Linked DNA regions of Homo sapiens: region 1 is linked to region 2. Evidence: promoter capture Hi-C in 16 types of primary human blood cells and fetal thymus (Javierre and others, 2016). All regions are on one chromosome and are shown on one strand. Each heading gives the region's core, a stretch centred on a gene start or on the middle of the fragment in contact. The rest is flanking DNA. Distances are from core to core; before and after follow the strand shown. Region 1 overlaps SNRNP200 (small nuclear ribonucleoprotein U5 subunit 200). Region 2 holds the start of ASTL (astacin like metalloendopeptidase).

Evidence for each region. The method cuts DNA at HindIII sites, captures the fragments that hold promoters and counts their contacts. A CHiCAGO score of 5 or more calls a contact.
Region 1: a contact is called between a fragment that was not itself captured here and the fragment with the promoter of ASTL in region 2, in 4 of 17 cell types (M1 macrophages, M0 macrophages, naive CD8 T cells and 1 more). The highest score is 8.9, in M1 macrophages.

The regions. Positions count from the first base shown.
Region 1 is chr2:96,285,985-96,290,682 of GRCh38, forward strand. It overlaps SNRNP200 (small nuclear ribonucleoprotein U5 subunit 200), which reads right to left. Exons shown (of 45, transcript NM_014014.5): 20 at 4,342-4,530; 21 at 3,815-4,012; 22 at 3,243-3,395; 23 at 3,053-3,133; 24 at 2,679-2,762; 25 at 1,879-1,985; 26 at 1,455-1,573; 27 at 1,022-1,176; 28 at 704-893; 29 at 327-500. Among named protein-coding and RNA genes, the nearest start is that of SNRNP200, 17 kb to the right of the region's middle. The HindIII fragment of the contact is 2,153 bases long and covers 2,241-4,393 here.
Region 2 is chr2:96,134,653-96,139,775 of GRCh38, forward strand. ASTL (astacin like metalloendopeptidase) reads right to left here and starts at 3,850. Exons shown (of 9, transcript NM_001002036.4): 1 at 3,730-3,850; 2 at 2,923-3,048; 3 at 699-760. The coding sequence starts at 3,784. RefSeq lists enhancers at 1-463, 1,315-1,364, 3,705-3,774 and a silencer at 4,665-4,754. The HindIII fragment of the contact is 4,955 bases long and covers 1-4,407 here.

The DNA.
Region 1 (4,698 bases), core at 2,067-4,566, 150 kb after region 2:
GATGTGGTGAGGAGGCTTCAGTGCCACCCCATGGTTCTGGTTCAATACTTGAGCGCCAGGGGCAGGCCTCTAAGCCTCCTGGGCCCGAGAAATGACCATGCCATGTAAGGCCTTGCTCTATTGCCCCTCCACAGTGACACATGCAGAGCAGCAAAGCAACCAAAGGCTTCTGACAAAGGAAAAAGTCCTGGTGGGTCCCAGCGGTCACACTGAGGAGCTCCCAGACCTCCCAAGTGCCTGAGCACCCCCACTCCCCTGCCTGCCACAGAGCACATCTGTCTCCCGGTGACTTCAAAAGCCTCCAGAGGAGGGATGGAAACACTTACCCTGGGTCTGGATGGGATTGAAGAAAGGAAATTTATCTTGGTAAAGACTCTCAAAGGCACTGTTTCTCAGAGCAGACACGGGCAAGGGCTGCAGGTCCAAAAGTTCGGTTGGAGGGGGGTACTTCTCCGGCAAGATCAGGTGCCGGAAGGAGACAGGCAGCTGGGTCTCACAAGCTGCCAGAAAAGAAACAGGAAGGATATAAGCACTGCTCTCTTTCCCTCACTGGCCTCTAGATCCCCTCCATGAACACTGGAAACCTAGGCAGCATATGTATCACTCTGTCCCCAGCAAGGGCAAGCCCGGGACAAAGTGCAAGACATTCTTCTACTGTCCTTGGAGGGACTGTTCCTGGGGACTCTGGAGAGGAGACACTCACAGAGCCAGCGGTCAGACACCACTCGGATGAAGTACTGAGGGGGCAGCGGTTCAAAGACAGGCACGAAGAATGTAATGAGGTGCTCGTCCTGGGCGTACTTGGCCTTGAGGAGAAAATACTCATGGTGCAGAATCACCTCGCTGTCCACATCCTCCACCAGAATCCAAAAAGCCTCGGATGAACCATGCACCTGCCAACAGGAGCAAGGGTAAAAGGAATGTGAGTCAACGTAGACTGAGTGCCTCCAATCCATCTCCTCGGCCCAGCAACGTAGACTGAGCACCTCCAATCCAGCACCTCTGCCCAGCAAAGCCTCACCTTTTCATCCCACTGGAAGTCTGGCGTGATGGTCAGCTCCACCTTCAGGGTGGAGCGTGTGATAGGCTGCAGGTGCACTGACAACTCCAACTTGGGAAACAGATGGACATATTTGTGGATGGTCTTCCCCATCTTTGGCATGCGGATAAGCTCCCCTACAAGGAAATGAGAGTACTGAGGCTGCAGCCCAGCCTGCCTACTATACTGCAAACTGGGCCTGAGGGCCACTGTGGGAAAGGGGTAGGGTCTTCCCTTTATGGTCAGTGGAGCCCAGGATTCCAAGTCCCCAGACCAAGGGCCAGCCTGTACTTCAGTGGGACTTGGGGAGTGAACACAGGATACTAATGCACAGGCCTAGGAACAGGAAGACTACATAGGCAAACTGGGAGAGACACCCAGGCAGTGAGGACAAGGGCGAGAGCATCCCACACACCAATCTCATTATGATTCAGGTCGTACAGACGCTCAAAGGGGAAATTCTTCTTCTCAATCTTCTTCACTACTTCCTCAGGGAGTTTCCGGAACTGGCGCAGAGGACACATGGACTGCCACCTATCCAGGAAGGAGGCAAAGCTGTTGGTCCCTTCTGCAGGGATGTGACAAACCACCCACTTCATGGCTTCCAATAGTTTAGCAGTGACTACACAAAACACAGTCATTAAAGGCAGACACTGACACTGTGCCAGCCCTGGCCTCCACCACAGAGGGCCTTCCCTCTTCTCAATGTGCACCAAGGTTCAGGTCATACTTCCGATGTCAGGTCTGGAGATCAGATGCACCCTGAGGCTTTCCCATCAGACCCTTGGGTTGGGGACCCCCACTCATGGTGACCAGCATCCAGCTCACTGGGTCCTTACATGCGTTTGTCGATCATCTTGCAGAGGTTCAGGGTCTTGTCTGTAAGCTGTGCCCAACCTCGGTTCAGGACAATTTCAAATATCGCTCGCATCAACCGGCCAGCCGACTAAGCAAAGAAGCAGCATTCCCACTGTTAAGTCTCGACTATCCCCAGGCCTCATGAGCCACTCTACACACGGTTTCATTACCTCCAGCTCTGACACAACCACCCACCCTAACTCAAAGGCAAAGTCCCCTCTGTCTTTACGCCTTTCTCCGTTCCATATAGTAGATGCTTGCCGGATGGGGAACAATTAGAAGAGTGCTGCGGCTCAAGGTCACTGCACAACATTTTAACCTAACATTCACTGCATGATTTTAAAGCTTTTGAGTCATTTAGCATTTAGAGTTCTAGGAAGAGTTGAGGGTACCAGTGACCTGTTCTTAGAGGTAAAGATGAAGAGCAGCTAATAAAACCCTGTGCCATTTTTGGATTTATTTATGAGCTGTGCAGCAACAGTGGGAAATCACTTTGCTGCTGGGAAGCAGACACTGCGTGCTGTGGCTCTTCCTGTCTCTCTGAGGGCCCGTGGAGCCTCGAAGCATTCCCTCTTAAGGTCTTACCTTTCCCACGTGCTCAAGATGTATACTACAGAGTGGCTGTACCACACATGCACCAACCAACTACCCGGCAAGAGCAGAACTAAGCACTCCTCCCATCTCACTAGGGTCGGGCCTCCTTTCCCCAGGATGCACACAGCACACAGGGATTGAACTGTTCAGGCCCCTTCTCACAGCTGCCATACAACTCCGCTCTCACCTGTGTGACATACACCATGTCAGCCATCAGTGCAAAGCCCTCCAATTTCAGCTGTGAGATGAAGGCTTGCAGAAGAACGTTGATCTGTAAAGAAGCAAAATCAGCCAGCAGGAGACCAATCACTGAACAGTCCAAGAAAGGGAATTACATTTCTGCTCTGAGCATCCAGGCCAGGTGAGATTTGCTACAGGTCTTGATTTACAAATACTAAATAATTGTTATTTCATATAAAAAGAACATGCGAGAAGGCTGCAAAAACTAGGAGAACTGAGCAGGAAACCACACATGAACCCAAATTCAAGGTTCATCTTTTAGAAGATTATGAAAACCACTTAATCCTCATCCTTATCAAAGCAAAGAGGAGAGGAGCTCACCTTAGCACTGGGTTCCTCAATGCTCTCCTTTACAGGGATAGGCACCCTCTCCAGCAACTTCTGCAGCTCCAGCTTCTCCTCCTGCCACAAGGAGGAAAAGGTCAAGGGAAAGCCTTGTGGCCGAGGAGGGACACCATTCAGTGACTTGGTGAGCACCAACTCCCCGCCCCATCATGCTGCATAGGCTCACCTCTCTCACTGTGATGTTCTTGAACTCAGAGGACAATGAGAAGACCCTGAAAAGCTCAATCTCACTCAGGGTGGGCTTCAGCAGCTGGTTGTAAGTCTGCACTGTATCATTGGTGATGTAGTAGTGGCTGGCTATACGGCCCAGTTCTGTCACCTGGAGAGAAGGTAGACTCAATCCAGTGCTGACTATTAATGAGCTCCAACCTCTAACTGTGGACCATAAGTTACTGTCCTATAGGTTTTTTGTACTTTTTTTTTGGTAAAGTATATGACCCAATGTCATTATTGTCCTAATAGGACAACTGGATGAAGTCACAGCAGTACAAGTGCCAGGCCCAGGCACATGAAGAAAAACAGCAGAATAAGCTGACCCATAGTGAAATGATGTCTGCACGGACAAGACAGCTGAATTATCCACCTCAAGTTATGGGAAAAGCTACCCATTTTTCTGCTGTTCTAAGCAACAGGTGATTAGATAGGCAGTACTCACATCAAGAGAGCAATCTGAAAAATTTTTTCCTGGGCCAACAACTTTTGCTGAGACCTTTGCCTCAAAACCCTCACCCCACGCACCTGGAAGTTGCCCGTCTTCTTGTCGTACTTGACCAGATTGTTCTTGTCCAGCATCAGGGCAGCTGTATGAACCAGATCTAGTCGGCGCTGGTCCAGCAGGGGATCTCCCTTGAGGTCATCATGAGAGATGCCATAGAGGGTTGGGGATCGCAGCATTCGGATATAGAGGTAGGCATAGCCCAGCCAGTTCACCGCATCCTACAAGACACAGCTCATGGTTCTTAGCATGGAGAAACTCTTGATGTCCAAATGACAGGCTCCCATGAATTGCTTAGAAATTAATTCCCAACTACAAGGATGCATATTACATCGTATTCTGAATGTTTTTAGCATTTCATTATTAAAAAGATCTAAGCGTCTTCTAAGATCTTGGTAACAAGGGGAACTATCTGCCAGACCCAAGATGTGGGTGCAGGGATGGAAGGCCTCGGACGCTGCTGGCCCGCAGCACAATAGGGACCGACCCACTCCTGGTGCCTTGGTGTCTGCGGGGAAAGCATGAAGCACAACAAGCAGTCCTCCCCTACCTTGGCATTCTGGACATTTCCTAGCACGATTTCTGCATTGAGCATGTCAGGAAGCTTTGAAACCATCTGGCTTTCAATAGGAAGTTGTTGATTGAGGAGGGACAGGTAGTACTGTAGCTCCCCATGAGATGTGATGAGTATGCCTTCACCCTTGGTGTCATACTGGGGTCTTCCGGCACGTCCCAGCATCTAGATCAGAGACAGCGAACCAAGAATGCTATGTCAAGAGAATGTCTGAATTTTGATGCAGGTATCTACATTACAGAACTAGACCTCTGATCTGCTAGCTTTCCAGCATCCCTGCATTTCAGGCAAGGATACTGATCCCTGCTGAGAATAAACTCAAAAGGCTCTGTA
Region 2 (5,123 bases), core at 2,600-5,099:
GGGTCTGCCCTGCCCCCGGAGTTCCTGGGCAGCCTTGGGCCAGCCTCTGGCTCTCCTGCCCAGCCAGAGGCTGTGCCGTCAGTGGCAGCCTCCAACAGGACAGTCTTGCCTTCCCCTGGGTCACTGTCCTATTCAGGAGCCTTCTGCCATTCGCAGTTGCCTGAAACACATGGCTGCCATCCTGGGCACAGTGTTCCCTTTTCTGTTAGCAAGGCGCCCCAATCCCCAGCAACCTTCTCCCTTCAGATGCGGCCCCTCGACCACAGCCAAGATGGTCAGGCTCAACATCACTCCTTGTTCCACCATCCCTAGGTCGCCACTGCCACCAGGCCCTTTATCTGCCACTGGCCACTCTGCCAACCCTTGCTCATCTCTTCCTTTATCTGAGCACCTCCCGAGTGCTGAGCACCTCCCCTGGGCAGGGTACCAAGCTGGGTCAAGTGTTCAAACCTCCTCCTTCAGGAAGCCCTCTCAGGCTGACTGTGCCAGCACTTCAGATACCAGCCTTCCTTAGCATTCAGGCTGGCTTATTCCTATTTCCTAACAGAACAGTCGCTCTGACCTTGACAAAAAGAGGCATCTACCAAGCTATGTATGTCCCTCACACATCAGGCCCCATGGCATCCAGGGTGGGCTCAGAGGACCTGTCGCCAACTGTGGGCTTATCCGCACCCACACACGTCAGTGTGTGCACTCACCGGCCGGATGATGTCCCCCTCGATGAGGAAGCTGCTCTCTGGGGTTTCTTCCAGGATGAGCCCTGGGAAAGGAAGAAGGACGTGTTGGCCCATGTCCCCCAGAACACTGACTCGTGGGACAGGCCAAGCAAATCCCTACTTACTTAAGTCTATTCTTGTGTCTTTCCTAGTGGATTGTTACTTTTATAAGTTCTTAAATAGCCTGATAAAAGTATAGGTCATCGGCTCTCCGAGCCTGGGTGTTTAGTTAAGTCATTAGTTGATGTTTGAGAATGTCAGCCACCCTGTGCGGACTGTCTGCAGGTGTGAGGGGGCTGGAGGACAAAGACAAAGGAGACTGAGGCTTGGGGTCTGTCCCTCTCCTGACTGTGGAGCTAGAGGTTCCCTGAGCACTGAGCCTGCGTGGCCTCAGGGAAGTCACACAGTCCCTGAGTGTGCAAGGCTTCTCGGCTGGACTGCAGCCTTCCCCTGCTCAAACACAGCCCATGACCCACGCAATCCAGTCCCAAGCCCGGGTCCCTGCTGTCAGGAAGCAGTGGCTTCTTCCAGCCTGAGCCACACTCCTCAGAACAGGCCCTGGGGTCTCCTGCCCACCTCATCCCCCATCTATTCCCCACCCATCTGTTATATTCAGGCCCCTTGAGGTGGCAATTTTGTTCCACAAATTTGTTCCACCATCAGAGGCAGGCAAATACCGGCTCTCGCAAGCCCCTCTCCCCTCTTAGTCCCTCTGCTTCTCATCTCTCCCTGAGCCGGGTCTCCCACAAGTGACTCACAGGGGGAGTGAGGGAAGCAGGAGAGAAGGCAGGGAAGAACCCAGGCACAGCCTCAGCCAGATCCCATGGGCGCTCCAGACCACAAATGACACCGCTGACTTGTACCACCTTTAGGCAGGAGCCAGACTCCTGTCCCTTAGAAGTCACAGTAGGCCACCTTGGGCAGACAAGGGAGTAGCCCCCGGGCATCTCTGGCTGAGGCAGCTCCTTCTGGCCAAGGGCCAGTTTTGGGAGGCAGACAGCTGTGCAGCATTAGCCATATTCACAGTGGCTGGAGATGGGCAGGTGCTTCCCAGGAAAGCACTGGGTAAGGCACGGGCAGCCCTTATGAGACAGCCTCACCGTAGGTGATAGGATAGTTGTTGGGGTCACCAGCATTTGGGAGTTTTCTCCATTGGTTCTGGTTACCTGCAGACCACTCACGGTGATCCAGGGGTGGGATGGTGCCTGGGGCTCAAGGCTCAGCTGGCGCTGGGCTCCCAAGTCAGCTCACAGAGGAAGAAGGGGGCAGATCACACAGTGGCTACCACATCTGGTAGGATCTCACCCACCCTTAGGGCAAGGTTGTCCCCTGTTCAGCCCGATTGCTTCAACCCTGAGTGCTTCAGCCCTCATTGCTCCAACATCTGAACTCCAGTCTCCATTTCAACTGGCTTTGTTCAGGCTATTTATACACCCTCATTCCTCAGCTGACATCCCCAGACAGCAAGGCCCTGAGCCTGACTTTTGTTTTTTGTTTTTTGTGAGATGCTCTGTCGCCCAGGCTGGAGTGCAGTGGCGCAATCTCAGCTCACTGCAAGCTCCGCCTCCCAGGTTCATGCCATTCTCCTGCCTCAGCCTCCTGAGTAGCTGGGACTACAGGCGCCCGCCACCACGCCCGGCTAATTTTTGTATTTTTGGTGGGGACGGGGTTTCACTGTGTTAGCCAGGATGGTCTCGATCTCCTGACCTCATGATCTGCCCGCCTCAGCCTCCCAAAGTGCTGGGACTACAGGCGAGAGCCACCGCACCCAGCTGAGCTTCAGACTTCTTAATCACACCTGCAGACAGTCCTGCACAGGGTGGCTGACAATCTCAGACTGCGACTAACCGCTTAGCTCCACGCCCAGGCCCTTTAAGAGCTTGGTTTTTCTTATAAAAGTAACAATCCACTAAGAAAGATACAAAAAGAAAGAGTAGACTTAAGCAATTGCCCATAGAATTTCCACCCATTCACACCTGTAGTCCCAGCTGCTCGGGAGGCAGAGGCAGGAAGATCACTTAAGGCCAGGAGTTCAAGACCAGCCGGGGCAATATAGCAACACCACTCCATCTCTTAAAAACCACTTAGAGCCCAGAGTAAGCTGGTCCATTTCCTCCCAGGCTCTGCATTTCTGAGTGTTCGGTGTGGTTTTCACACTACATAACGTCGTGCCCCTCCAGGCCGTGAGAAGATGTAGTGCCCTCACCTTGGTTAATTGCAGGAATGTCCTTGTCCCCGGAGGCCTGGGTTCCCTCAGGGGTGAGGCCATCTGGGAAGCTGGTACCACAGGCTCCTGCGCAGCTGGAGGCCAGGGGCGCTCCTAGGATCACACCTGGTCCAGACAGACAGGGGCATACACAGATGCCTGGAGCACCCACCGGTGAGACCAGACAGCAGGACATGGGGTGGGTGTGGGGGATCAGACGGTAAGACTCAGTCCCTAGGAAGAGTAGGCTCCAGCACAAAGCCAAGGAGCCTTCCCAGCCTCCCTGCTCAACCCCAACTGGTGCCAAGGTCTAGATGACCTCAGGGAAGGAGCTCCCTTAGGGGGACCAAAAGGGACCATGTGCCCCACCTATGAGGTAGAGGAGGGGCAGGAAGGAAGGAGGCAGGACAGACCTCGGGTTCTGACGCCCGTGACGGGCAGGGCCAGCCTCAGACCCCACCTTATGACTCTCTCTCAGCCCAGGCTCTTGGACAATGGGCTCAGCCTGGATGACTCCCTGCCTGACCAGGCTGGAGTGGGGACTTACAGCCTACCCCCACCCCAAGACAAGTAGGCCTGGGGCACAACACTTATCTTCTGCCAGGCAGGCCCTCTGCTTCCAGGGCCTTCAGGAGGCCTCCCCTTGGCCCCCCAGGAGCTGACTTCTAGAATAACCCTGGAGAGCTCTGTGCTCTGAGCTACTGAGCTCAGCTACAATCCCTGCAGGCTCCAGCCACAACCTTCTAGCCTCTCCCCAGCTTTCTCCAGGCTGGAGCCAGCAGCAGGAGGGACAGGCAGCCAGCTTACCTGGCAAGGAGAGCAGACCCAGCACCCAAGGCCAGAGACCCCCTACACCCTCCATGGTAGAGCCCTGCTGCCCCTTCAGCAAACAAGACCAAGCCCCAGCAAGACACAGTAACCTAATTGCAGAACCGGCACCACCACCCCCTCTTAAATAGCAGCTGCTCCACCTCCCACCTTGCTCCCCTCAACCGCCTCCACCTGCAGCCCCGCCCCAACCACCTCCACCTGCAGCCCCGCCCCAACCATCTCCACCTGCAGCCCCGCCCCAACCACCTCCACCTGCAGCCCCGCCCCAACCAGCTCCACCTGCAGCCCCGCCCCAACCAGCTCTACCGGCAGCGCCACCCAAACCAGGTCTACTGGCAGCCCCTCCGATGCCTACCTGTGGTTCCCACCCCAGCCCAGTCCCCTTCCTGGCTGTAGCAGGTGAAAGACAGGAGGGGCCCGCTTGGGAGTGTGGCTCTTCTGAGGTTCCTTCCTGCCTCCAGGGGGCAGAGAAACATCGCAGAAAGTTGCTCCAGGCCTAGCTGAGGCCCCAGCCCAGGTATAGACCTATTCCTCCAGCGAGGGAGACCCCCTTTCCTACCCCGGCCTGTGCTTAGACATGGGGAAAGCTGCCTGAGACCCTGGGGCGCCCCCCGTGTATCTCCGGAAGGAGGAAAAGGTCACTGCACTTTCACAAGCTTTTATTTTAGTACACATATAGAAAAGTTCACTATCACAAGCACAGGGCTCCAGGAAATTTCACAAACTGAACAGTGTGCAGCACCCTAGAAAGCCTGCCATGTGGGAAAGGTGGAACCCCCAGATGCCCAGAGCCTCGCAGGGAGTCCACCCCCTAATCCCACAGCAGCTGGCATGATCAGTCAGTATTTATTCCCATTTCACAGATTTGGAAATTTAAACTCCTTACCTATATCCCCCCTCCTCCATACCCCTGAGCCCCAGAGCCAGGTCACTCAGGGCCCCACCTGGATTGAAATCCCAGAGGCGGAGCATGTCAGCGCTGGGCAGCATTTGGGGACACCCCCACAGTCACCTGCACCCAGTGAAGGGAAGCGACAGAGCCAAGAAGAATAGCTATTGTCCACAAGGACCTTTCAGCATTCCCACTGTGCCTGGAATCCAGAGCTTCTCCAAAGATAGGAATCAGAATCACAGGGAGACCATGATGGAGGCAGACGCCCTGCTGCCAGGGCAGGGTATTGACAGATGTCAGGATACACACCATGGATATGCTAGTTAGCTTGTTGTGGTCATCATTTCACAAGGTATGCATATGTCAAAACATCACGTTGTATACTTAAACATATACTACTTTTATTTGTCGATTATGCCTCAGTAAACCTAGAAAAAATAAGTAAAATAAAGAATAGGACCCATCAAAAAACAAATGC